7 separate regions of the Homo sapiens genome follow, and regions 2, 3, 4, 5, 6 and 7 are each linked to region 1. The links are contacts of gene promoters, found by promoter capture Hi-C in blood cells and fetal thymus (Javierre and others, 2016). All regions are on one chromosome and are shown on one strand. Each heading gives the region's core, a stretch centred on a gene start or on the middle of the fragment in contact. The rest is flanking DNA. Distances are from core to core; before and after follow the strand shown. Region 1 holds the start of NUBP1 (NUBP iron-sulfur cluster assembly factor 1, cytosolic). Region 2 holds the start of RSL1D1 (ribosomal L1 domain containing 1). Region 3 overlaps GSPT1 (G1 to S phase transition 1). Region 4 holds the start of CARHSP1 (calcium regulated heat stable protein 1). Region 5 overlaps SNX29 (sorting nexin 29). Region 6 holds the start of USP7 (ubiquitin specific peptidase 7). Region 7 overlaps HAPSTR1 (HUWE1 associated protein modifying stress responses).

Region 1 (3,551 bases), core at 191-2,690:
GGCCAGGCTGGTCTCGAACTCCTGACCTCAAGTGATCCATCCACCCGCCTCGGCCTCCCAAAGTGCTGGGATTACAGGCGTGAGCCACTGCACCCGGCCTGTCTCCATTTTTGATGAGGAACCAGAAGCTCAGAGAGGTTAGGACTATTGCTGAAGGTCACACCGCATGGATCCAAGAATCAAATCCAAGTCTCTCTCTGAACTCCTTCAAGATTCTCCCCCTTGGCCAGGTGCAGTGGCTCATGCCTGTAATCCCAGCACTTTGGGAGGCCCAGGCAGATGCATCACTTGAGGTCAGGAGTTCGAGACCAACCTGGTCAACATGGTGAAACTCTGGTTCTACTAAAAATATAAAAATTAGCCAGCCGTGGTGGCAGGCGCCTGTAGTCCCAGGTACTCGGGAGACTGAGGCACGAGAATCGCTTGAACCTGAGAGGTGAAAGTTGCAGTGAGCCGAGATCACACCACTGCACTCTGGTCTGGGCTACACAGCAAGACTCTGTCTAAAAAAAAAGGGGGAAAAAAAAGAAAAAAAAATATTGTCCTCCTGCCTCCTGCTTTTTAAGGTCCTTCTGAGCAGGCTCCCTGGGTCCTCTCATCCTGGAATCTGTGCTTCACAGCACTTAAAGCTGCGGTGGTTTAGTTGCTAGCTCACGTGTTTGTTTCCCCAGTAAAGCTAAACTCCACTAGAGCAGTGACCACGCCTGATCCCCAGCTGTGTCCCCAGGACAGCACCAAACCTACGAGGCGATCAACACATTTCTGCTGAATGAGTGGGAGAATCACTCCTCAAAAGGAAGAAAATTGTGTCAAGAAAGTAGCTGGCAGAGCCAGGATGTAAGTCCGAAGACTCCCCGACTTCGAAGCTTATCCCGTTTTTCTCTGCGGTCTGTTATTGTCACTCAAACCTCTGGCCCCGACCCTCTTAATTAATGTCCCTTTCGACTCCGCGCCGGTCAGTCTCCACCCTCCATCCGCGCCAGGTCCTTCGCGCTCGCCTTCTAAAGGCCTCGTTCCTGTCAGTCATTCCAAGCTCCGCCCTCACCCTGCCCACTTTCCACGCCCCGCCCCTTCTGGGCCCCACCCCTCTCCGAATACAATACCTTCTAGCCTGCCGCTGTCAGTCATTCTGCAGATCCCGCCCCCTCCCTCCCACGCCCCGCCTTTTCCGGGCCTGCGCCTCTAAGTTCCTGTTGAGGCCTTGCCCTTTTCTCACCCGTGTCCGGAGTGGCCCCCGCTCCAGAAGCGCACAGCCGCTGGTTGGGGCATCCCTGACATGAAGCCCCTCTGCCCGCCTGGGCGCTGTCGGCCCCTGGACAGTCTGCGCAGAGACAAGACCACAGTTAGAGCAGCTCCCGACACTTTCGCCCCGCGACCCACGCCCCCTCCGCGAGCTTACCGTGAGGCACCTCCTCCATTCCGTCGCCTTTGCCGCCTTCGTGGTCACCGGAACCCGCTGTCGTACATTTCCGCCTTGTGGGCACAATCTGATTCTCCGACCGCGCGAAATAAGTCTCGGAAAGGGGGCTGTGCGCACGCGCGAACCTTGGGCCGAAAGACTGGGACTCAACGTCTGTTCCTTTTCAGAGATTTCCTATCATAAATACTTCTGCAGTGCATCTCCTAAGAACAAAGCCATTCTTCATGACATCAGTGCCATTTTCATACCCAAGAGATTTAATATCGATGCAGTACTAGCCAATGCAGTATTAGCCAATAGACAGTTTATATTTCAATTTCAGTTGTTAGACCCCCTCCCCTGCTGGATTCACTCACTGCCTGGAGTTATTTCTCTTCGGTCTCCTTTAATTCAGATCAGTCCTTCTTTTTTTAGGGGGGGTCTCATCACCTTGATAATTTTGACGGGTCCAGACCAGTTGTGTAATAGAATATCCCATATTCTTGATTTGTCTAATCCTCCCCTCCCTCTTGCCTTGTAATTAGATAAAGGTTAATTTTTCTTTTTTCCTGCAGAACACACTTGGATAATGTCAGTTTGTCCCGTTTTTGGTAATGTGAAGCTTGATCGCTTGCTAAAGGTGGTGTCTGCCCCATTTCTCCATTTAATGTTTCCTTCTTCCATTTGTAATTAACAGGTACTCTCTGGGACCATCTTCTTCTCTATCAGCCTTTCACTCAGTGATTTTAGCAGCATTTATATATATATATATAAAACTATAGATTATATATATGATAAATATATATCAGTTTTATACCCTCTCTTTTTTTCTTTTTTTTCGAAGACTCACTATGGATTCCTGGATTTTTTAAAATTGTCTTTTATAATCAATTATTATTCTTTCTGGTCGATTTTTTTTCCCCCAGATGTGGCCAGTGAAGCCCCTTCAAGACAGTTCTTATGTTCTTTGGGCACTAATCCAGCTTCTTTGAGCATTTTCTTGCTTTCTGATACAAGATGTTTCAGTCATCCCTTCTCCCTGCTGCAGTCATTTCTTCAGGGAGCCTTGGTTACTTTTTAGCAGACAACAGTTCAGAAACCAAGATGTGGATGCCACAAATGCTCATTGCTACTGGAGTGTCATTGCTCACAGGTTTGGCACCTGGAATATTAATGAGTGAACAAACTTTACCTAGCCCCAGACACTAAGAATATGGAAACGTTTATTTATTTATTTATTTTTGAGGCGGATTCTCGCTCTGTCACCCAGGCTGGAGTGCAGTGGTGGGATCTCGGCTCACTGCAAGCTCCGCCTTCTGGGTTCACGTCATTCTCCTGCCTCAGCCACCCGAGTAGCTGAGACTACAGGCCACCACGCCCGGCTAATTTTTTGTATTTTTAGTAGAGACAGGGTTTCACCATGTTAGCCAGAATGGTCTCGATCTCCTGACCTCGTGATCTGCCCGCCTTGGCCTCCCAAAGTGTTGGGATTACAGGCATGAGCCACCGCACCCGGCCTCGGAAACATTTATTAAACAGCAGTGTATCAGCTGCCTGTCACTACCACTAATTATAGCCAGCATTTTGTAGAATACTTACCGTTTGGCAGCTGTCATCTTTGTGCTTTCATGTGAATTACCTAATTTATGTCCTTTCATAGTCCTACTGTCTCCATTTTTGGATAAGGAAACTGAGGCTTAAAGTAAACTACTTTCCCGAGGTCGCATGACTGGTAGCAGGGGAACCAGGGTGATAAACTTGGTCTGTCTGGCTGCAGAGCCTGCACTTAGTAACACATGGTCCCAGCCAGCACTGGGCTAGATGCCAATGATTCCAGACTAACCTGGACCCTGCCATCTGGAGCACAGTCTGGTCGGGAGAAGAGGACCAGAGTGATGGGGCATCAGCAAAGGCCTGGAGAGCAGAGAGGAAGTCACCTATCAGGTAGGGACTGTTGTCATTTCCGTTTTACAGGTGATAAGATGGCTGCAAAGATTTACTTGTCCACAGTCTGAGAGGCAGAAAGAGCAGAACTGGGTTTTTAACCAAGTCTGATACAGGGCCTTTGCTATTAATCACTATACTGTATATTAGAGGGCAGGATGCAAGTTATTCTCCTTTTTATTTTTATTTTTGTGGGATGGAATCTCAC
Region 2 (3,848 bases), core at 1,032-3,531, 1.1 Mb before region 1:
GCATTTTGGGAGGCCAAGGTGGATCACCTGAGGTCAGGAGTTCCAGACCAGCCTGGCCAACATGGACAAACCCCGTCTCTACTAAAAATACAAAATTAACGCCGGGCGCGGTGGCTCAGGCCTGTAATCCCAGCACTTTGGGAGTCCGAGGCGGGCGCATCACGAGGGCAGAGGTCAGATCGAGACCATCCTGGCTAACACGGTGAAACCTTGTCTCTACTAAAAATACAAAAAAAAAAAATTAGCCGGGCGTGGTGGCGGGCGCCTGTAGTCCCAGCTACTCGGGAGGCTGAGGCAGGAGAATGGCGTGAACCCAGGAGGCGAAGCTTGCAGTGAGCCAAGATCGCGCCACTGCACTCCAGCCTGGGCGACAGAGCAAGACTCCGTCTCAAAAAAAAAAAAAAAAAAAATTAGCCAGGCATGGTGGTGCATACCCGTAATCTCAGCTACTGGGGAGGCTGAGGCAGGAGAATAGCTTGAGCTCAGGAGGCGGAGGTTGCGGTGGGCTGAGATCTCGCCATTGCACTCCAGCCTGGGCAACAAGAGCGAAACTCTGTCTCAAAAAAAAAAAAAAAAGTAGCCGGGCATGGTGGCGTCCGCCTGTAGTTTCAGCTACTCGGGAGGCTGAGACAGGAGAACTGCTTGAACCCGAAAGGGAGAGACTGCAGTGAGACAAGATCACTGCACTCCAGCCTGGGCGTCAGGGCAAGACTCCCTCTTTAAAAAAAAATTGGCCGTGGTGGTTCACGCCTATAATCCTAGCACTTTGGGAGGCCGAGGCAGGTGGATCATGAAGTCCAGGAGTTCAAGACCAGCCTGGCCAGGATGGTGAAACCCCATCTTTACTAAAAATACAAAAATTAGCCGGGCGTTGTGGCGCGTGCCTGTAATCCTAGTTACTCGGGAGGCTGAGGCAGAGAACTGCTTGAACCCGGGAAGCGAAGGATACAGTGAGCCCAGATCGTGCCACTGCACTCCAGCCTGTGCGACAGAGCGAGACTCCATTACAAAAAAAAAAAAAAAAAAAAGGAAAAAAATTAATTAAACCCATCCAACAAGAGAAAGGAGAAGTATCTCCTAAACATGCCTAGAACATCTCTGGAAGGTTCCAGGAGACACTGGTAAGGGTACCTCTGGGGAGGCGGGTGGAGTGGGAGGAAGACATTACAAAGCAAACCTGTCCTACCCAAGGGCCGCGTGCGGCCCTGGAGGCCAGGCTTTGAATACAGCCCAACACGAATTCGTAAACTTCCTTAAAGCATTACGAGATTTTTTTTAGATTTTTTTTTTAAAGCTCGTCGGCTATCATTAGTATTAGTTTTATATATGGGCCCAGGCAATTCTTCTTCCAGTGTGGCCCACGGAAGCCAAAAGATTGGACTCCCCTGTTCTAAGGTATTCCATTTGTCAGTTATCCAGCCTCCACTCCTAACCTGTTTGTTTAGCGACAAGGTCTCACTCTACTGCCTACGCTGGAGTGCAGTGGCGCGGATCAGAACTCACCGAGCCTCGAATTCCTCAAGATCCTCCATCCTCCGCCTCCCAAGTAGCCGGGACTACAGGCGCGCACCACCACGCCGGCTAATGTTTATAATTTTTGGAGAGACGGAGTCTCGTATATGCACGGACTGGTCTCCAACTCCTGGAATCCCTCCGCCTCGGCCTCCCAGAGCGCTGGGATTCCAGACGCCAGCCACGCGCACGACCAGCCACGCTTATTTGTACAGGATCTTACCTCCCGCCTCTCTGCGAGACCAGAAGCTCCTAAGAGACTGGCCCAGACTCATCTTTCGGTCCCTCATGCTGCTTAACGTGGCAGGTCGGGTGGCTCCGGGTGGCTCCCGTGCCTTATATTTCAGGGACTCCTCACCAGCCTGGGGTTGGCGTCGCCTAAAGTCAACGGGCAGGTGGGCAGTGGAGCCAGGATTCCGCGCTCTGCCCATGCCACGCGCGGCCTTCCCGGAGGCGGGGACCGTGGAGTGTGGAGGACCCCACTGGGCCTCCTGACGGGACTCTTCTCTCGCCTCAAGGCGCTTTCTTGATTTCTATCTAGTAAGAGTGAGAGGACACCCAAGCTACTCCCCACAGCTCATGGAAAGCTGGAGAAAAGCGGAAGAGCAGGTGCCTCCTCAAAGAAGGGATTCTGACAGCAGCCACTGCCCCGGAGAGCGAAACCCCACGCTCTCCCGGAAATGACGCACAGAGGCTCGGTTCCCGCCCCCTCGCTTCCGGGGCCGGGCTTGCTCGCGCGTGCGCACCAGAAGCCAGCAGTGGGGTTGCACACGCGCCTCTTCACGAGGTGGAAACAAGATGGAGGATTCGGCCTCGGCCTCGCTGTCTTCTGCAGCCGCTACTGGAACCTCCACCTCGACTCCAGCGGCCCCGACAGCACGGAAGCAGCTGGATAAAGAACAGGTGAGTGGTTCCTGGGGAGGGTGGCTTGGAAGCAGTGTGGCGGTTACCTCGTGAGGCGCAGGGTGCCGGAACCCGAGTGCGTGCTCGGCGGACTTCCCCGGGGCTGTGGGACGGTCGCTGGCGGGCCGTGTGCCTCAGCTGTCTCTCCCCTTTACACACGTGGGTGGGCGCCTGCTTTCCCTGGTCCTGCGGCCTGGCGCTAGTGAATTGGGTTGCAAGTGTGCTGTGGAGCTAGATGAGATAGACCTGGCGACCTGGCTTAGCTTCCCTATCATTAGCGCTTGACCGAATCGCTTAGTTTTGCAGGTCTGTTACCCGTTATTTAAAGTGGGCCCTTCGGCTCCCCGTTATCCAGGATCGGGAGAGGTAATGAGTGTAAAGCGCTTTGGCCTGGTACATGGTAAGAAGGTGCTCAGTAGGCCGGGCGCGGTGGCTCACGCCTGTAATCCCAGCACTTTTGGAGGCCGAGGCGGGTGGATCACCTGAGGTCAGGAGTTCGATACCAGCCTGGCCAACATGGTGAAACCCCGTCTCTACTAAAAATACAAAAATTAGGTGGGCGTGGTGGCGGGCGCCTGTAATCTCAGCTACTCGGGAAGCTGAGGCAGGAGAATTGCCAGGAGTTCTCAGTAAATGCTAAATGCATTTTGCTTTGCGTTTTTCCTGGGATTACTGCTTTCATCATTGAGGGCAGGAGGGGCACGTTTCCCTCTAGCCCAATCTCTTTAAGTAGAAGAGGTGCCCTTCTGCACACAGTACTGGAAGTGGGTACTTAGGCATGTTTGATGGATTCTTAGATTTCTGTGAATATAAACTGCAGGATCCTAATAGATACGGTTATGGAGGTTACCCCTTGAAATAGAAGTTGGAAGGGAAAAAATAGAAGGTGTGGGAGGGGGCAAATGCTAAATTAGATTGAGAACATTTCATTTATTTGTGTAAGTTATTGTGAAAACATTTCACTTATTTGTCTAATTTCCACTTTGCAGGTTAGAAAGGCAGTGGACGCTCTCTTGACGCATTGCAAGTCCAGGAAAAACAATTATGGGTTGCTTTTGAATGAGAATGAAAGTTTATTTTTAATGGTGGTATTATGGAAAATTCCAAGTAAAGAACTGAGGGTCAGATTGTAAGTTGTGATTTTCTACCTTTGCTGTTTTTATCTGTGTGTTTATTCTTTGTAACTCGAACAATTGCATCATGGTTACTAATGGAAACTTTGCAAACTTATAATAAAAATCTGACGTGAAGTAAAACAACTATGTCCAAAAGAACCATAGAGGCTTGATGTGGTGGCTCACACCTGTAATCCCAGCACTTTGGGAGGCCGAGGTGGACGGATCACCTGAGGTCGGGAGTTCAAAACCAGCCTGGCCAACATGGTAAAACCCTGTCTCTCCAAAAATACAAAAATTAGCCAGGCATGATGGCGG
Region 3 (3,415 bases), core at 144-2,643, 1.2 Mb before region 1:
TGGAAGCCCCCGGGCCGGGCCCTTGCGGCGGCGGCGGCTCCCTGGCGGCGGCGGCCGAGGCCCAGCGGGAGAACCTCAGCGCGGCCTTCAGCCGGCAACTCAACGTCAACGCCAAGCCCTTCGTGCCCAACGTCCACGCCGCCGAGTTCGTGCCGTCCTTCCTGCGGGGCCCGGCAGCGCCGCCACCCCCAGTTGGCGGCGCCGCCAATAACCACGGAGCCGGCAGCGGCGCGGGAGGCCGTGCGGGTAAAGGCCCGGGACGCGGGAGGAAGTCCGGCCGGGCGCCGGAGCCCACATGGCGTAGGGGTGCGGTCCGGGGGCGCGCGGCCCTGGGGCCCGGTCGGCACGTGGGGCGCTGACAGTGGCGCCGTCTGCCTGGGTGGGGCGCCCCGAGCCCGGGAGCCGGCCTTCGCGGGGCGGCCCGCGGCGGTGGCCGGGCGGGGAGCGGACAGCGGGCAGCGCGCCCAAAGACCCGGACCCGAGTGCCGCCCCTCCGCGCCCCTGCCCTGCTCTGGAGTCCGCAGTTACCCACTTGAGATGGGAACCGTATGGAACGGAGTGGGGGCCGCGGCGGATCCCTGCCACGAGGCGCAGAATGAGGACAGATGGAGCCAGGAGTCATTTGGGTGGGCGTTTAGAGATCCCAGGAGTTGGGGAGGACGAATGGCCGAGTTTTCCTTTCACCTTAGGCCCAGCCGAGAGAGCGTCTTCTGCTGCGTTTTCTACTATTGAAACTGTAATTACGGTTTAAACTGTCCGTGGCCCCCAACCGTCCTGAAGGAATCCCAAGATGCATTGCAGCCTTGTGATCGGGCAGAAACTTGGCTATCAATACCAAGATCTGTTTTACCCTTAGCATTGTGTACGCTTCTAAAGTTTACAAAGTGCCACAAAGTTAGGATTCCTCACTTAATGTGTGATAGGAGACTATATTGATTTGTGTCTTTTTAAAGTGAAGCTTACACTTTTATCCTTTGTCAGCGACACGTTTAGAGAATTTTCATTGCTGTAAAATCGTTGACCTTATTCAGATTGCTTGGAATAACTCACTGTGTTCGTGCATCAGTAGTTCAGTCTATTTCTTCAGACACTTGAGCATTTGTTATAATTTAATAGTTCTCACGTGTCTTTCTGACCGTAGCTAGTAGACATACATTTTCTAATCCATAAAATTTCGAGTTAACTTTGGTTTTTAAACATCTTCCCGTACTTAGGGGTTGCTTAAGTCGTAGGTAGCATGCTTGCAGGTGCTGACGTTGTAGGAATATCCGGTGAGTGAACTTATGTATTCTCATAATGGTGCTTATTTTGTGGTAGGTAGCTTGCTTTCAGGTACTGATTTTGTGGGAATGTCAAATGAGTGAACTTAAGTATTCTCTTCCTAATGGTGCTTATTTTAGGAACTATCAGTGTTTCCTTAAAGAGAAAATGAAAAAGGAAGGAAAAGGCTGAACGTCCTTTCATCATTTAGCCAGGACGTTAGTGGGGTGGGTCATGACATCCAGCGCATTTTAAGTGAGAACATATTGTTGATTTCTCTCTTTAAAGTTCTGTATTGTGGTGGTTCTTAGATAAGTGGACATTATAAAAGTGCTCCAGGAGTTTGGTTTCTACAGAAACTTTTGTCACCGTTTGCTCTTTCGTGGTAAAGGGATAGTGTCTGGAGAAACACTCTGATGACGTATGTACGTCAGCACGGTTGATTTGGTGGTTTTGTTGACAGTGGCATTTATTTGTGTGGGTGGTTGATGTTTTCTTTTGAGGAGATCGAGCACTTTCAGGGTGGTACGGCTCTAGACAATGTTTTCCTCTTGAATAAGGAAGCTTAGCTTGTAATTCTTGACTTACATCAAGCCATTTTGACTGCCTAACCTAGTTCACTTCTCAGCTCCTAAAAGTGCCCATTCCCTACCTTACTTTGCAGATTCCGTTTATCCAGCCATTTTCTTTCTTGGCTCTTCCTCCTTTCTGTGGAGCCACCAGCACCACTCTGACTAGACTCAGGACTCCATTTACAGCCTGTCCAGCGAGTCATCCGGGGATAACCAACCTTGGTCTAGAATGGTCACTGTTGGTGACTAGGTATTACCTCTTATGCGGGCTTTCTCTCTTCCTGATAGTTGCTAATTTGTAGTTACACCTAATCTTTTTCTCTTTGACAGTGCTAGAAATTGGAGATGCGAAAACCTGTAGGGAAGTAGCTGTCAGTAAGAGAATCCGTACAGCATGGTCAACTTTCTTGTTTTTAATCAAAAAACTATTTTGGTGTTACCGACTTTACCAATTGCTTGTACCAAAATGCCAGTTCATGTTTTTAAAAAATTATCCTATGTAGGATGTCTATTTGGAAAAGAACTGATTTTCTAAGTTGAGGTCCAGGGTTATATTGAGACTGTTGGATTGCATGTTCCAGACTATTAAGTCCATAAAAAGCCAGCATCGGAGAACAATCAGTGCTTATAAAAAGCAGGGGGATAAATAGGAAATAACACCTGGATTGGAACTTACAAAGGGGGAACCAAAAAGTTTGCAAGGTTTTTTTGATAGCGAGGAAGTGGACAATAGGGCTAGCATGTTCTGTTCTTTAGTTAAGCCATAGCCGAAATTTGTGCTGGGTGTGTTTTTAAACTGCATGCCGGGAAAGCTGTTGAAGGAGCCTGGAGAGTCAGACCTTGGGATTCAGTATTGACCTTGGATCTCTTTGAAAACTAAAGAATATAGGTTCCTTAAGAAATAATTAAGTGGAACCCATTTAAGTGTAATTAAGTGTAATTCATTTAAGCACAGTTCTCTAGAGCCAAGTAAATTGGCCAAGAGATTCTCCTTAAAAAGTGAGGTCCCCAAGTGAATAAAAATATAGAAGACAAGGCTTAATGTATATTAGAACAAGCATTTTATCTGATAGGATGTATTTAAGTTGCAATTTGCACCTAGTTTTTTTTATTGTTAGATAAGAAACTGGTTTAGTAATTTTAGGGTTACTTGAACTTTTTAGAACAGCCAGAGCTTCTAAAGTAATGATGTGGTGTTCTTTGCATCATCCCACCTTTAATGCTTCTCAGAACTCACTGCCATTAAGAAACAAGCATGGAATAAAACCAGCAGCCCTCAGTACTTACTTGGAGGAGGCACTGTCTCCAAAACTTAGCAGATTGTATTGTGGAACTTGAATTTTAAAGAGAAACATTCTGTTTTGTAGTGTTCCGTATTTGCTGAATGCCTTATTTATTGGAAGAGGAGGTTTTTTTTTTGTTTTTTTTTTTTTTTGAGACGGAGTCTTGCTCTGTTGCCCAGGCTGGAGTGCAATGGCACGATCTCGGCTGACTACAACCTCCTCCTCCCAGGTTCAAGCAATTCTCCTGCCTCAGCCTCCCGAGTAGCTGGGATTACAGGCACCTGCCATCATGCCCAGCTA
Region 4 (3,614 bases), core at 290-2,789, 1.9 Mb after region 1:
CATTCTCCTGCCTCAGCCTCCCGAGTAGCTGGGACTACAGGGGCCCGCCACCGCGCCCGGCTAATTTTTAATATTTTTAATAGAGACGGGGTTTCCCCGTGGTCTCGTTCTCCTGACCTCGTGATCCGCCCGCCTCGGCCTCCCAAAGTGCTGGGATTACAGGCGTGAGCCACCGCGCCCGGCCTATTTATTTATTTTTAACTTTTTTTCCCCCCCGAGACGGAGACTCGCTGTCGCCCAGGCTGGAGTGCAGTGGCATGATCCTGGCTCACTGCAACCTCCACCTCCCGGGTTCAAGTGATTCTCCTGCCTCAGTCTCCCAAGTAACTGGGATTACAGGCACCCGCCACCAAGCCCGGCAAATTTTTGTATTTTTCATAGACACGGGGTTTCGCCATGTTGGCCAGGCTGGTCTCCAACTCCTGAGCTCAAGTGATCCTCCTGCCTCGGCCTCCCAAAGAGCTGGAATTACAGGCGTGAGCCACCGCACCCGGCCTCAAGTAAATTTTTGTGTGGACAAACATTTTTATTTCTCTTGGGCGCGCAGACACCTAGGAGTGGAGTTGATGGGTTTTATGGAGACTCCAGGGCTCGTGGTTTGAGGAACCGCCGGGCTTTTTCCACAGCAGCTGCGCGGTTGTTCCCACCAGCCGTCTAGGACGGTTCCTTGCCTGGCTTGGACTAGTTGGTTTCGCTGCTGGGCCTTTTCCCCAGTGGCCCCAATAGGGGCTGCAGAGTGAGGCAGGCACAGTCCTCACCGCCGCCTCCGGGGGCCCTGTTGTCCCGGGCGAGCTCCGGGGACCTCTCTCCTTCCCCGCGCCCCTCAAATACCAAGCTGACCCTGGTCCCGGGATCTAGGCTCGCCTTCAGGGGCTGCTCTCGACTGGCCGTGCCCATGGGCTGGTCGCCTCTCTGTGCCTCAGTTTCCTCTCCTGCAAAACAGAGGTAACATTTTTTACCTCCAAAAACAGAGGACTCAAGGAAGGCTAGAAATGAAACAAGAGAAGAGAACAAAATCAAAATCCCCAACGAGAAAACAAAACCCTGTTTTTCTGGTGTGTGTGTGCGTGTGTATTTTTTCTTTCCCTTTTCCTCCTTTCTGTTTTTTGCTTGTTTTCTTCCGTCTCTCTTTTCATTCCTTTATTTCCTTTCTGCTAAAAGTGACACCCTCCGGGATTATACAGATTTTAGAGCCAAAGGCAGGTGGGAGCCGCACCTGGCGCGCGTGGCGAGGGGAAGGAACTGCACGGGCGCAGGGACACAGTTCCCCCACTTTGCAGGGGCGTTTTCTGCTGGTGGGTGCAGCCCAGCTCCGCCCCGCCCCGCCCCGCCCCGGCCCCTACGTCCCGCGCTCTGCGTTCCGCTCTCCCGCCAGTCTAAGGCGCGGACACAAAGGTCCTGTCCGGGCCACTCCCGCCCCGCCCGCCCCCACCGTCCCGGGCTCCCTCCCGCAGCCCCATTGGCCGGGAGCTCCTGGGGGCGGGGATCGGCGCCCCACCCCCCCTCGGGCCACGCCCCCTCCCCAGCTCCGCGCTCTCAGTCGGAGCGAAGCGGCTGGCGGAGCAGAACGGATTGCAGGGTAGGGAGCTCTTCTCGGGGACCCCAGGATAGGCGCCCCTGGCCCGCGGCCCCGGGAGCCGCAGGGGTGGGGCCTCGGCCTCCTCTGCCTCCATCGTCCCCCATCCTGCAGGGTCTTCTAGCTCGGCAGAGGAGGGCTCCGGGCTGGGTTTCTCGGGGCCTGTTTGGGGAACGCGGGTTGCTCCTCCCCAGGGGAAGGGGTGGGTGTGGCAACAGCGGCAAGGATTCTAGGCGGACGTCGGGTAGTACTTCCCGCCTGGCCACCTGTTCTCTGCGTGCAGGGGAAGCTCTTCCCGCCCTCCCCGCTGCTTTTGCCTTTGGGCGGGAGCCCTGGACGGGGGACTCGCCGGGCGGTGGGGCGAGGCGCGGGGGGCGTCGCACGCGGGAAGCAGAGCCACCCCCCGCCGGGCCTGGCCGCGCCAGCTGTGGCTCGAGGTTGGGACGGCGGCCAGGCCCGGCGGGGGAGGTGGGGAGCCGTCCTGGCGCCGCGCGATTAGCCGCATCTGGGGGAGGAGGAGCCGCCGGGCGCGCTGGGCCCGGGTGTTTGCGCCCGGATGGGGGTGGGGGTGCCTTAGGCGCTGGAGAAAAACTTCACCCGCGCCCACAGGCCCCCTTTCCGCAGGCTGCGCTGGCGGTTCAGGTTTGCAGGCCGGAAGTGAAATGTTCTTTTTTGATTTTTAAAAAGGAAGCCTCCGGCCCTATGGTTTTCTGGGGTTGGAGTGGATGTGTGTGCTGGGGGAGGCGGAGACGTCCCGCTCCAGGCAGGGCCTTGGGTCTTAATAGGTGGGGAAATCTCTGCCAAATAGGAGGCCTCTCGGAGCCTCAGTTTCCCCATCTGCAGACTGGGCTCTGACTTCTTCTGGCATGAGAGGGTGTGTGAGAGTAAAAGGAGGCAGCTAGCCCCGTGCCGGGAGACACGTAAGCTACTGTTTTTTAACTTGCTGTTTTGATATTTCTCAGTCTCTCTGTGCCCAGTCTTGCTTGCCCCTGTCATTTGCTGCCACTCTGAAGCCAGAGGGAACTTAGAAAAACAATCCGCTTAGATCTACCCCACGCTGAAAATCGTCCACCGAAGTCCCATTGTCGTCTAAGTCCCCAACTTCTCAGCAGGGCTTCCTGTTATCTTCCGCCACTACCTTCTCCAGCCTCTCTCTGCCTCTGTTCTCCCTCCCTTCGGGCCTTTGGCCCTCCTCTGGGCTCGGGGTCCTCCTTGGAGACCCCACCGCCCTCTGCACTCCCTGGGTGGCCTCGGTGATGACCGTGAGTTCTCGATGCTGGTCCCTTCAGGGCAAGAAAGAGGCGCAGAGCCCGGCTGGGAGTAGATGTTTTCAATGAGCTGAGCTAGGCCTGGCGTGGGGCCATGGGGTGGGGTTGAGGGTGGTTGACGGTGGGTCCCCTAGGTAGGGGATCGGTCTTTGTTCCACCGAGTGGCAAAGCCAGCGCATTTGGTTTGTGTTCCATCAGCAGGGGCAGGAATGGGAGGGAAGGTGATTTCAGATGGGCCCGTGCCTGACACTTCCACCATCAGCCGCACTATTGTGGACTGAGCCCGCCGTGCGCTTGGCATTTTCGCGGCACCATCTGCACAGCGTCCGAGCCCTGCGACGCAGCACCGCTCCTGTCCCCTTTGACAGATGAGGAAACTCGGGTGGGGCGGTGAAATCGCCTGGCAGGGGTCACAGAGGGAGTGGGGACCAGTCAGGGCTCAATCTCAGGTCTGAGCCAAAGCCCCCCGAGAATGGAGGGAAGGATGGAGGGATTGAGTGGGGGAGGCGTGTAGAGTAGGGTTCTTGTTGAGAAGGAGGGCTTGGGCTTCCCGCAGGAGGGGCAGTCCAGGCTGAGAACTGGGGCGGGCGCAGGGTCCCAGGTGGGTGGTGGCGGTGGGGTGACCGTCTCCCTGCTGGGTGGGGTCGCCCGTCCGGTCGAGGCCGTCCAGGGGTGCTAATGGGGGCACAGGCAATGGCAATGTTGGAGGCCCCCTTGGGTTCCCGGTACACTCCTCGGGTTTCCGGCCTCTTCCCAGCACTCAGGGGCTC
Region 5 (3,829 bases), core at 1,264-3,763, 1.3 Mb before region 1:
CACTGAGTACAGAAGCTGTGATTTCTTGGTCAGTGGGGCCATAAAGAGCATCCTGATGGCAGGATGTGGCTGTTTGGTTTCAATCCCTACTTTTCCGGCACAATTCCCTTTTGGAGAAGCACTTCCAAAAGGGCTAGGTGCGGGGACTGCACCCAAATGGGCTTTCCTGCACTGCTGATCACCCCACTTCTGGTCTTGCTGGTGGTTACAGAGCTTCCCAGCAGTATGAAGACTGAGATACTTGCCACAGGCCGGGGCCAAAAAGAAGCAGCACTCATCTCTCTTTTGAACAACAAGAGTGGGTATCAATCGGAACCCAGGGCAGGCAACCACGCCAGGCACACTTAGTAATAGTTTCCTTCCACTGTCTTCATTTTACAGCGACCTGCTGGTTTCGTTAACTCATAGTGACTCTCCATTTACAGTAGTGAGATAAAGCTTCCTTTTTCAAAAAATAAAGGAATTCAATTTGTTTAAGTGCATCATTAAAAGTAAACTACAGTCTGGGCACGGTGGCTCACACCTGTAATCCCAGCACTTTGGGAGGCTGAGACCGGCAGATCATGAGGTCAGGAGTTCAAGACCAGCCCGGCCAACATGGCGAAACCCCATCTCTACTAAAAATACAAAAATTAGCCGGGCGTGGGCCTGTAATCCCAGCTACTTGGGAGGCTGACGCAGGAGAATCGCTTGAACCCAGGAGGTGGAGGTTGCAGTAAGCTGAGATCGTGCCATTGCACTCCAGCCTGGGAGACAAGAGCAAGACTCTGTCTCAAAAAAAAAAAAAAAAGTAAACTGTAGTAGGCCGGGCACGGTGGCTCATGCCTGTCATCCCAGCGCTTTGGAAGGCTGAGGCGGGTGGATCGCTTGATCCTAGGAGTTCAAGACCAGCCTGGACAGCATGGTGAGACCTCAACTCTACAAAAAAATAAATAAATAAAAATGAATAATAAAGTAAACTATAGGGTAAGTAACAGTACTGTGGTAAACAAAAGATTGACAGGTGAAAAGCAGCCAGCTACATACTCACCCACCCTGTGTCCCATGGACTGAGTGATCTATTAACACCTGCTCAGCGGAGTTCAGGGCTGAGCAGCGCCACAGTAAACCACACATGCTCACATACAAAAAGTGCGGCCAGCCGTTCCCACGCAGCAGCCTTACGGTGTCTGCTCACTTCCTGCTTCACCCTTGAATCAAAGAATGCTGGGTGCCTCCCAAACTCTTTCTTCCTTCCTTAGCAACAAAAACTAATTTCCTTTTTATCAAGAACAATTGCCCCCTCTGCAGCCAAGGGGGACCATGACATGAATGCTGGCCCAAGACACGAGTGGTATACTGTAAGCACCTTCTAGTGAAGGTCGGGGGAGCTTCAACGTTTTTGTACCAAGAGCCCATTTTGTAATCTAGGAATAACCATGGGCTCCTATTCAGGAAAATGTATTAAAATATATAAAACATACCATATCACAAAGGAAACCAATTACATCAAAATAGAATGATCATGATTGAAGAAAATACTATATTTCACCCAGAGCTAAATGAAAAACATTGTAATTTTTTTCCCTATCCAAGCTCAGGCCCCTGAATCCTATATGTAGAAATAGACGAAGTCTCTCTGCTCTCTCCTCCTTCCTGCCGCCTGGAATGAGAATGAAATGGCTGGAGCTAAAATGGCTATTTTGGTCTACAAGGCAAGACAGGAGGAGTCCCGGTCTCTGATGGCCGTGGAGCCACATACCAGCCCCAGCCCATCTACCTCTGGATAGAGAGAAATTTCCATCACATCTCCTTAACCACCGGAACTTCAAGAAGAGTAGGTCTGAATGGCTTTGTGTACAAAAAATAAACCAACTGTTGGTTTACATAGTGTCTGCTCACTTCCTGCTTCACCCTTGAATCAGAAAATGCTAGGTGCCTCCCAAACGCCTTCTTCCTTCCTTAGCAACAAAAGCTAATTTTTTTTTTTAATTGGGAACAAGTGCCCCCTCTGCCTCCAGGGGAGGCCATGGGACAAATGCTGGCTCAAGCCACCAGTGAGATACCAGGAGCACCCGTCAGTTTACATAACAGTTGGTTTATTCTTTGTTATACAAAGCCATTCAAACCTAGTCTTCCTTGCTATATCTCTAATACTTTTTCTAGGTAGTAAAGTTGGAAACAGTTGAAGCCTGATCATTAGCAAAGTTTAATCATCTTGGAGAGACATATTCTTCTTCACTTACAAAAATGAGTCCTTCAGAGTTACAAAGGAAATCCAACTAGAATAGGTCCTCTGTAGCTAACTGCATTATGGGAGGCAAACCCCAAAACCTGGAACCACAGAAGTCTACGGCAAGGCTGCTCCATCCTGAGGCACGCCCTTTAGCGCGCACACGCCCAAGCGCCACGCATTAACCACGGTTCTGGATATCCACAAGCACGTACCACACCTCCAGTCTACAACCAGGGACGTACACACCTGACGTGAACCCACAGTCACAGGGTTAGAAGCACAAAGGCACCGCCATGAGACGTGGGCCAGAAGTCATCCCAGAGCTGGTGGAGGGGGCTGCGAAAGTACTTACTAATTGTCATGGACTCTGGCACTGAGGCAGAAGGTAACAGGCTGCTCAGAGGACTTCCGTGGCCTGGAGAGCTGGCTTCCACACTAGGAAAAAGCAGGCAGGAGGAAGTTACACTCGGCCACTGAAAGTACACACCCTCACCATTCCAAAAACTAGCAGAGGTCGGTTTACTCCGGTACCTCTACTAGAAGGGATAGAGGCAGTCATTGGAAATTAGTCAGGCCTCGTTATCTGCAGATTCCGTATTTGGAAATTCATCTACGCACTAAAATTTATTTGTAACCCCAAAGTCAATACTTGAGGTGCTTTCACAATCATTCATGAACACGTGCAGAGGCCAATAATTTCACTCCCTAATGTGCATAATCTCAGCTGAAGTCGAACAGCTGGGACCTCAGATCTCACACCGTAAACAAGCATCCTCTTTGCTGTCTATTTACTGCCATGTTTTTAGCATTTTTTTTTCCACTTTTCTTTCTTTTGCGTGATCTCGGCTCACTGTAACCTCCACCTCCTGGGTTCAAGCGATTCTTGTGCCTCAGCCTCCCAAGTAGCTGGGATTACAGGCCCGCACCACCACACCCGACTAATTCTTGTATTTTTACTAGAAATGGGGTTTCGCCAAGTTGGCCAGACTGGTCTCAAAGTCCTGACCTCAAGTGATCCACCTGCCTCAGCCTCCCAAAGTGCTGGGATTACAGGCATGACCCACCACACCCGGCCTTTTTTTCCACTTGATTTTATTGTTTAAAATGTCCCCAAGCACAGTGCTGAAGTGGTACTGCCGACAGTTCCTAAGCACAGGAAGGCTGTGATGTGCCGTATGGAGATAATTTGTGAGTTAGAGATGCTTCATTCAGGCATGGCTTACAGTGCTGCTGGCTGTGAATTCAATGTTAATGAATCAACTGCATACATTAAACAAGGTGTCTTTAAACAGGAACAGACATAAAACCAGGTTATGTGTTGATCAGTTGATAAAAATGCTGTGACCAGGCCAGGTGTGGTGGCTCATGCCTGTAATCGCAATACTTTGGGAGGCCGAGGCGGGTGGATCACATGAGGTCAGGAGTTCGAGACCAGCCTGGCGAACATGGCAAAACCCCTTCTCTACTAAAAATACAAAAATTATCTGGGTGTGGTAGCACATGCCTGTAATCCCAGCTACTTGGGAGGCTGAGGCAGGAGAATCACTTCAACCCAGGAAACAGAGGTTGCAGTGAGCCAAGATCACGCCACTGCACTCCAGCCCCGGGCAAAAG
Region 6 (3,708 bases), core at 802-3,301, 1.8 Mb after region 1:
TGATCCTCCCGCCTCAATCTCCCAAAGTGCTGGCATAAGGGGTGTAAGCCACTGTGCCTGGCCCATTCAACCAATATTTATTTATGTATTTATTTATTTTAGATGGAATCTCCCTCTATTGCCCAGGCTGGAGTGCAGGGGTGTGATTAGCTGACTGCAGCCTCCACCTCCTGGCTTCAAGCAATTCTCCTGCCTCAGCCTCCTGAGTAGCTAGGATTACCAGCGTATGCCACCATGCCCGGCTAAGTTTTTTGTATGTATTTTTAGTAGACATGAGGTTTCACCATGTTGGCCAGGCTAGTCTCGAATTCCTGACCTCAGGTGATCCGCCCACCTCGGCCTCCCAACGTGCTGAGATTACAGGCGTGAGCCACCGTGCCTGGCCCAACCAATTTTTTTTTTTTTTTTGAGATAGAGTTTCGCTCGTTGCCTAGGCTAGAGTGCAATGGCGCGATGTCAGCTCACCGCACCGCACCCTCCACCTCCCGGGTTCAAGTGATTCTCCTGCCTCGGCCTCCTGAGTAGCTGGGATTACAGGCATGCGCCACCACGCCCGGCTAATTTTGTACTTTAAGTAGAGACGGGGTTTCTCCATGTTGGTCAGGCTGGTCTCAAACTCCCGACCTCAAGTGATCCGCCCGCCTTGGCCTCCCAAAGTGCTGGGATTACAGGTGTGAGCCACCGCGCCGACCTGGCCCAACCAATTTTTATTGAGCACTTGCTGTGTATCCCAGGCATTTGTGATACAACAGTGAGCAAAACATTCTTTCGGGGGGAAGGGAGATGAACAGTACATAAATGGGAGAAAAATGCAGGGAAAGCGGGTATAGGGAGATGGAGAGAAGACAGGTACCACAATCTTCTGGCCTTGTTAGGGTGAAATTCTATTCTCCCCTGAGATGTGTAGAAATGTATATCGGTTTGCTCCATTTTTATTGACCCACACTGCCTTGATTAACTGGAAAAGTTGAGACCCTAATCATCAGTCTGTCAATGACTGAATGAGACAGGACAGGAGATATATTCACCAAATGTCTCCTGGAATAGGGAGGCCCCGGGTGAATGATCCCAGACTGGGTTGATAGGAAGGAAGTAAATTAATACCAAATGTGAAGGGTAGTGGGCTTGTTTTATTTTTATATTATTATTTTATTATCACTATTAGTTGAGACAGGGTCTCATTCTGTTGCCCAGGCTGGAGTGCAGTGGCGCCATCTTTGATCACTGCAGCCTCAGTCAACCTCCCAAGCGAACCTCCAGCCTCAGCCTCCCAAGTAGCTGTCACTACAGGCAGGAGGCACAACACCCGGCTAATTAAAAATACATTTCAAAAATATAAAAACAAAACCCAAAACCTTTGTAGAGAGGGTGGTCTCTTACTCTTGGCCTCAAGTGATTCTCCCACCTCGGCCTCCCAAAGTGCTGGGATCACAGGTGTGAGCAGCTGCGCCCCGCCTGGGGTTGCTCTTGAGGAGCCAAACTTTGCCAGATTAGGCTGACAGTGAGAAAATAAATTCTTCCACGGTAGATACTGGGTGAAAAAGTGCACGTCAGCGGGCAAGGGTAAGTAACGACAATAACAGGAACTTCTAGGCGCTGACCCCAAGCTCCCTTCCGGGCCCTATCCCGAGCAGTCCCCGGGCAACCTCCAGCGCTCGCCCCGGCGCGCTAGGCTGGGACCTGAACCCCGGCTGCCGGGTGGCTTCTGGGCCCCTCCTCATTGCCGCTCCTGGGTCTTTCGGGGTGTCCGGCTCCCCAGGATGGGAAGGATTCCGGTTCACCTCCGCAGGGCTAAGTCACCGGGCGGCCCGCCTCGGCCCCCAGGGCCCGGGGGCAGGGAGCGCCGAGGGTCCGCCGCGGGGCTGCGGCGCAGGCGGTGCCGGGGCGCGGCGCTGCGGGGCAGGCGGGCCTCGGCGGCGGCGGCAGGCGGGTCGCTCCCTGCTCCGCCTCCCGTGCTCCGCCCTGCGCTCCCGCTCCGCCCTCCGGCTCGGCGCCCGCCCGCTTGCTCTCCTCGCTCGCTCGCTCGCTCCGCGGCCCCCCATGCGGATGTGACATTTCACGCCGCCGCCATTTTGAGAGCGAGCCGAGCCGAGCTGCCGGGCGCCGCGTCCGCTGCCGGAGCCCCGACGACGACGCCGAGGAGGCGGAGGCCGCGGCTCTCGGAACGCGGCCGGCCCGTCGCCCGCCCGCTCCGCCGCTCCCGCCGGCCCCAGGGCCCGCAGGCCCGCCGCGGCCGGCCAGGCCTCCCGTCCGCCGCGCCCGGCCCGAGGCGGGGCTGACTCCGCGGCCCCCGACCGGCCGCCCTCCGCCCCCGGCCGGCCCGCGGCCCCGCAGCCCCGGCCCCGGCCCCGGCGGCGGGAGGCGGGCCCCGCGGCGGCGGCGGCGGCGGCCGCAGCGAGCGACGAGGCCGCCCGGCCCGGCCCGCCGGCCGCCCGCCCGCCTCGGCGCCGAGATTGGGCGAATCGCGAGCAAGTACGTGCGCGTCTCCCTGCCGCCGCCGCCGCCCGCCGCGGGCCGCCCCGGGGCCGCCGTCGCCGACGACGCGCGGGAGGAGGAGGAGGAGGCCGCCCCGCCGCCGCCGCCGCCGCCGCCGCCCCGGCTCGCCGCCGCCCGCCCGCCGGGCTCGCAGCCCCGGCCCCCGGCCGCAGGCGAGGCCCAGGCCGCGGCCGACATGAACCACCAGCAGCAGCAGCAGCAGCAGAAAGCGGGCGAGCAGCAGTTGAGCGAGCCCGAGGACATGGAGATGGAAGGTGAGGCCCGAGGGCCGGCCGCGGCGGGGCCGGGGGGCGCCTTTCATTGTGGCCGGGGGAGCCGCGGGAGCCACGCGAGGGGCTCGCCATCTTTAACCAGGCCCCGGGCGGCCGCCGGGCCTCGGCCTGGCCTCCCGGCCCCGGCCTGCGAGGCTGCAAAGTCATGCCGGGTCCGCGGGCGAGGGGCGGCCGCCGGGACCCCGGCCCCGTGCATTGTCCCGACCTCGCGTCCGCCGGGCCTCCGCGGCACAAAGCGCCCTGAGTTGTAAATTCGAGCGCTCAGGCAGCGGAGGGACGGAGGTGTTTTCTCACCCAGGTTGGGAGGCGGACTCCGGGGACCGTCCCCGTTCTGGGGCGTCCGGTTGGATCTGGTGTGGCTGGGGAATTCCTGACCTCCCCGGGCGCGGGGCTCGCCCGCACCTGCTCCGGTGCGCTCCCCCGGAGGGCGCGCCGTGGCTCGGAAGCGCTCTTCCAAATCACTTTCTAACAGCACTGCCTAGCGTCGGGCTTACGTTCGAAAATACCTGCAAGGAACGCAGATGTTGTCAGGTTTTGGACTGGCCCAGAGTTCTGACCCGGGCGCTGTTGGTTTCCGAATCCACCTGTTTTTCGGGGAGTTTGTACTTGGCAGTGTGTGGTGCAGCCAGCATCCGGCCAGGTGTGCGCTTGCAACCGTGCGAAAGCCCTGCCGCACATGGCTGCCTGCATCAGAATCAAACCTGACTCGAAAGGTAACTCGGTTTTCTGCCGATGTGGCAGTAATTTTCCAAGGCACTGTAGTTTGAGGTATAGAGTCTTGGTTGTAAAGGTTGGATGTGAAGACGCTGTAAAGAGAAGGGTGTTGGATTTAGGGAGTTGGTCGTTGGAAGGCACTTTTTCTCACGACCCATTTCACTGAAACAAAGCAAAGTCCAAATGGTCTTTAAAAAGTTTTCTTACCTACGTGACGAGTTCAGGC
Region 7 (3,727 bases), core at 689-3,188, 1.6 Mb after region 1:
GTAAACAAGAGCTGGCACTCCCACCCAAGTGTAATCTATATTCCTATTCAGTTATTCTGATCCTCTTCCAAGCCTAGAGTATTTTAGCAAAAAGGTGGCTTCAGGTTGGTCCTAGGGCCAGCCTGCCTCTTAGGCCTCATCTCTTTGAACAGTTTCTCTCTCTTCCCTTCCTGCTCTCTTCACTTCACCCTTAGACCGTATCCCGACTACCAACATCATGCAATTTGCAGCTCTCTGAAATAGTGAGGCCTGCAACTATCTGTCTCTTCCAACATTTGCAAATGTCTGTCTCTCCCAACATTCACTCCCTGAGTGAGCCCACCTGTTCCCCAGCACCTCCCTTATGAGGCTCCTTCCCTGGTTCTCCTACCTCTCCATTTTAGTTTCCTGCTGGCTCCTCTTTCCCCCTCCTTGAAATTGAAACTCTCCGCTCACTCCTCAGTCGCCTTGGTGGGGTTCCCTTCTGCCCCTGAAAGGCTGGTGTCACCCTGGGTGATATCCTCAACCCCTACCTTACCCACACACGTTTCCCAAAACTAGACTAATGAGCTCAACGGCCCTCCCAGATTTCTAACTGCCTACTGGACATCTCAAACTCAACACCATCAAAAAGGAACTTCACTTCCTCTTCCCCAACCGGCACAAGCTTACTTTTAAAAAACAAAATAAACCAAAAAAAAATCTTGAGCTATCTTTCTACAGCATGGTACAATCAACCGTCTCTTCCTATAGAAAATATCTTTTCATCTCCATCTAATGACCTAAGCACAGTGCCTGGCACTTACGAATTCTGAAAAAGAATAATACTTCAAAGTCCTACCCCCTCATGTTGAAATCCACTGAAATCAAAGGTTCAACTGTTGATGTTTATTCACCTCTCCAACACCAGAAAATAAACCCAGGTGTTCTCTTCACTTAAATCATTGCCATCAAGTTTAAAACTCAATTATCCCCATTGTTGGCTTTTTTTTAAAGTTCTACCGCAAGACTAAACTTGAGGGGAGAGATGTGCCTTCTTTCATCCTAGTGTCTCAGCCTGTAACATATTACAAGGTGCCCATGTTCTTCAAAGATAACCTTTCGTACTTGTTTCATAATCCAAAAGGTAATTATTATGGCAAAATATGGGCACGTTCAGCAATAAACTGGGCTACTTCAATAATTAAAATCAAGATCCCCTTTATCATTTCAAATTATAAAAAGAATTCAACAAACCCCACCCTAATGCCCTTGTTAACATAGGAGTCTCATGGCAGCACGTTTAATACCTAACAACAAATATGGAAGGCTCAAAACACTGTATCAGAAGTGGACTAGGGATTTCAAGCAAATGTTCCTTATTGTTTCAGCTGCCATTCTCCATGAAAAAGAAGATGTGTTAAACATCAATTTGGTCAATCTGAAAATTCTAACAGCTTCTGGGAAATCATCTTTTTCTACTGGGTGTATGACCTGGGTGTTTATCTTGATAACTTTAATGTGCAATATGATCTATGACTGACTCTCATAGCAGTGAAAATATTTTCAAAGTCTGCCTACCTAATCTTCCCCAAAAAGACTTTTCACAAGGGTCAAAAATAATTAAGATTAACAACCAAAAAATGTGCATTTTGACAGCCCAAATTTTATTTTACAAACCAATGACAGCTACTAGAAGATGCTTTAGGAAACCTTAGCTAAGCCACATAAACAATCAGACCTATACAAGTACAGAAAAATCTAAACATGCTTCAGAACTAAAAAAAAAACAAAAAAAAACAAAAAAAACAAAAAAAAAAAACCAAGTTGTACGTCCTGAGGGCATACAACTTAATTTCTACAAAAACATACTTTTTCAAAAGGGCTATGAGAGTATCAATTGACAAAAGCAGAACAAGTAGCATGATTAGACAGAGAAGTCTTAATTGCTTAACACAAGATAAACTCAGCAGTTTTAAAGTGTCTGTATCCATTTTAAATGATTAGTCCAGGGGTAGAAAAGATGAGGATGGTTTCATCATACTTTGAAAAGGAAACTCCCACTGGAGCTAAAACAAACTTACAGTCCAGGTTATAAGAATCCAAGTTACATAGTAAATTATTAACTATTATTTTCATACCAAGTTCATGCTTAGGCAATAAGAAAATCCTGTTTGCAGCATTAATTACATGTAATTCAGTTTCCAGGCACATAGTTAGAGGTCACACACAGGCAGAGAAAGAACAAATGCCAGCCCAGTCATCTCACTGCCTCAGTCCAGCAGCCAGTGGCCCAGGACTTCATCTACACTGTCTATCTGCTTCCCAGCCACTTAAGCCCCACGAGGGAAGGCAAGGCAGCTAGCCCTGGAGGTGAGAAGACACCGTTGATCCACCAGCGCAGGTGCAGGGCCCTCTGCAGATTTGTTCCACCAGTGTATCTCCCATAGAAAATGGGATTTGAAATCACAACTTAAACCAAGTGGGTAATATCCTGACCGGGGGCCCTAAGAAACTGGCATTCTTGCATTGGAAATGAATTGCACTATTCAGATGCACAGCACTCCTTTTGCACAAAGTTGTGTTCTGAGGTGCCAGGACATCCAAGCACTTGCAGTGTCAATGTCGTGTTTAAGATGTACCAGGGGAGTTCAAACATTTAAAAAGGAATTCTACTAGGAAGATTTCAGTAATTTGAAGTAGATACCACTCCCCACCCCAATCTGTAAATTATAATACTGAATTTTTATTGAAATAAAGCACACTAAATCAAACCAATTACAAAGATACATGTGTCACACCAAGAAAACATTTTCAGTTATGCTGACAGCCCCAAATGTTTTCCATTTTTCAAAGACAGTTTGTAATGTCATGGGAAAATTGCTCACGACGTTAAAATGAAAAAAGCAAGATACAGTAATCATATATGCAGTATGATCTCAACTATGAAATAACTTTAATATTTATACATTGAAAAAAAGACTAGAAGAAAATGCACCAAACATTGAACTGAAGTTAATCTCTATATACTGGGATAACAAGATATTAATTTTTTACTTCTTGAAAACTTTCAAATTTTCCAAGAAATTAATCATAAAATCAGTGAGAAAATTGAACTTGAATGAATATCAAAACTGCTTAAACAAGGACTAGGCTGAGTAACCTGGCTTTGAGGCATGCTACATGGCCCTTTTCACTGCAATGAAAAAAAAGTCCAACAAAATTTTATCGCAGGTTCAAGACAATTTTGCATTACTGATGTTGGAAGCTTTATGTCCGACCTCCACAAACTTCAGCAGCTAACATCTAATCTTAATACACAGAAAATGCCAACTTCATTGAAAACTTTAATGCTATCTTAATTGCCTTAATTGTTCTTTTCAGGGGCTGGTTTGAACAAAGGGACATAATTTACAAATTCCAGACTTCACAGAAAATTCAATTAAAGATTCTTTGAAATAATTCATTTTAAGTAATTAAGAGACTGCTTTGGTGCATTAATCTCTTACATCTTAATTTCCAAAAGGTCTTTAGACACATTTTACTTTTAAACAGCTACCAACAGTTCTGTTACTTCAAGAAGATGCAGACTGCAACATTCAACAAGCATTCCTTAAGAATCTACTGTGTTCCCACACACTGCTGAGAGTGTGGGTTTCCACAGAGAAGAAAGGATTCTGAAAGGTGAATGTGTATAATCCAACAGGTTGGTTCTAATTAATTCTCTGCAACAGAAAACTGCAAGACGTTTCTTTCGTACTATACCAAC

Evidence for each region. Contacts are between HindIII fragments. The CHiCAGO score rates a contact against its expected background, and 5 or more counts as called.
Region 2: the fragment with the promoter of RSL1D1 here is called in contact with the fragment with the promoter of NUBP1 in region 1 in 2 of 17 cell types (fetal thymus and total CD8 T cells); the score reaches 7.2 in fetal thymus.
Region 3: a contact is called between a fragment that was not itself captured here and the fragment with the promoter of NUBP1 in region 1, in 1 of 17 cell types (total CD4 T cells). The highest score is 5.6, in total CD4 T cells.
Region 4: the fragment with the promoter of CARHSP1 here is called in contact with the fragment with the promoter of NUBP1 in region 1 in 1 of 17 cell types (non-activated CD4 T cells); the score reaches 5.3 in non-activated CD4 T cells.
Region 5: a contact is called between a fragment that was not itself captured here and the fragment with the promoter of NUBP1 in region 1, in 2 of 17 cell types (non-activated CD4 T cells and total CD4 T cells). The highest score is 5.1, in non-activated CD4 T cells.
Region 6: the fragment with the promoter of USP7 here is called in contact with the fragment with the promoter of NUBP1 in region 1 in 7 of 17 cell types (non-activated CD4 T cells, total CD8 T cells, naive CD8 T cells and 4 more); the score reaches 13.9 in non-activated CD4 T cells.
Region 7: a fragment that was not itself captured here is called in contact with the fragment with the promoter of NUBP1 in region 1 in 1 of 17 cell types (M0 macrophages); the score reaches 6.0 in M0 macrophages.

Annotation. Positions count from the first base shown.
Region 1 is chr16:10,741,731-10,745,281 of GRCh38, reverse strand. It overlaps NUBP1 (NUBP iron-sulfur cluster assembly factor 1, cytosolic), which reads right to left and starts at 1,440. Exons shown (of 11, transcript NM_002484.4): 1 at 1,400-1,440; 2 at 1,217-1,321. The coding sequence starts at 1,418. RefSeq lists an enhancer at 1,582-1,631. The HindIII fragment of the contact is 1,155 bases long and covers 869-2,023 here.
Region 2 is chr16:11,849,975-11,853,822 of GRCh38, reverse strand. It overlaps RSL1D1 (ribosomal L1 domain containing 1), which reads left to right and starts at 2,281. Exons shown (of 9, transcript NM_015659.3): 1 at 2,281-2,415; 2 at 3,405-3,544. The coding sequence starts at 2,311. RefSeq lists enhancers at 1,079-1,612, 1,613-2,147, 1,920-3,119 and a silencer at 2,165-2,351. The HindIII fragment of the contact is 5,793 bases long and covers 329-3,848 here.
Region 3 is chr16:11,912,200-11,915,614 of GRCh38, reverse strand. GSPT1 (G1 to S phase transition 1) reads left to right here. Exons shown (of 15, transcript NM_002094.4): 1 at 1-246. Among named protein-coding and RNA genes, the nearest start is that of GSPT1, 2.0 kb to the left of the region's middle. RefSeq lists silencers at 40-109, 200-439, 480-529 and an enhancer at 1-215. The HindIII fragment of the contact is 866 bases long and covers 961-1,826 here.
Region 4 is chr16:8,866,931-8,870,544 of GRCh38, reverse strand. It overlaps CARHSP1 (calcium regulated heat stable protein 1), which reads left to right and starts at 1,539. Exons shown (of 4, transcript NM_014316.4): 1 at 1,539-1,579. It overlaps CARHSP1-DT (CARHSP1 divergent transcript), which reads right to left and starts at 1,264. Exons shown (of 2, transcript NR_186721.1): 1 at 1,217-1,264; 2 at 506-932. RefSeq lists a silencer at 1,217-2,176 and enhancers at 2,317-2,376, 3,382-3,614. The HindIII fragment of the contact is 19,717 bases long and covers 1-3,614 here.
Region 5 is chr16:12,077,654-12,081,482 of GRCh38, reverse strand. It overlaps SNX29 (sorting nexin 29), which reads right to left. Exons shown (of 21, transcript NM_032167.5): 11 at 2,568-2,650. It also overlaps the pseudogene RPS23P6. Among named protein-coding and RNA genes, the nearest start is that of SNX29, 100 kb to the right of the region's middle. The HindIII fragment of the contact is 4,146 bases long and covers 441-3,829 here.
Region 6 is chr16:8,962,249-8,965,956 of GRCh38, reverse strand. USP7 (ubiquitin specific peptidase 7) reads left to right here and starts at 2,051. Exons shown (of 31, transcript NM_003470.3): 1 at 2,051-2,750. The coding sequence starts at 2,672. USP7-AS1 (USP7 antisense RNA 1) reads right to left here and starts at 3,244. Exons shown (of 2, transcript NR_184341.1): 1 at 3,063-3,244. RefSeq lists enhancers at 1-447, 3,144-3,680 and a silencer at 1,589-1,948. The HindIII fragment of the contact is 5,189 bases long and covers 1-3,708 here.
Region 7 is chr16:9,111,059-9,114,785 of GRCh38, reverse strand. All of the region lies in intron 3 of HAPSTR1 (HUWE1 associated protein modifying stress responses), which reads right to left. Among named protein-coding and RNA genes, the nearest start is that of HAPSTR1, 21 kb to the right of the region's middle. The HindIII fragment of the contact is 2,580 bases long and covers 649-3,228 here.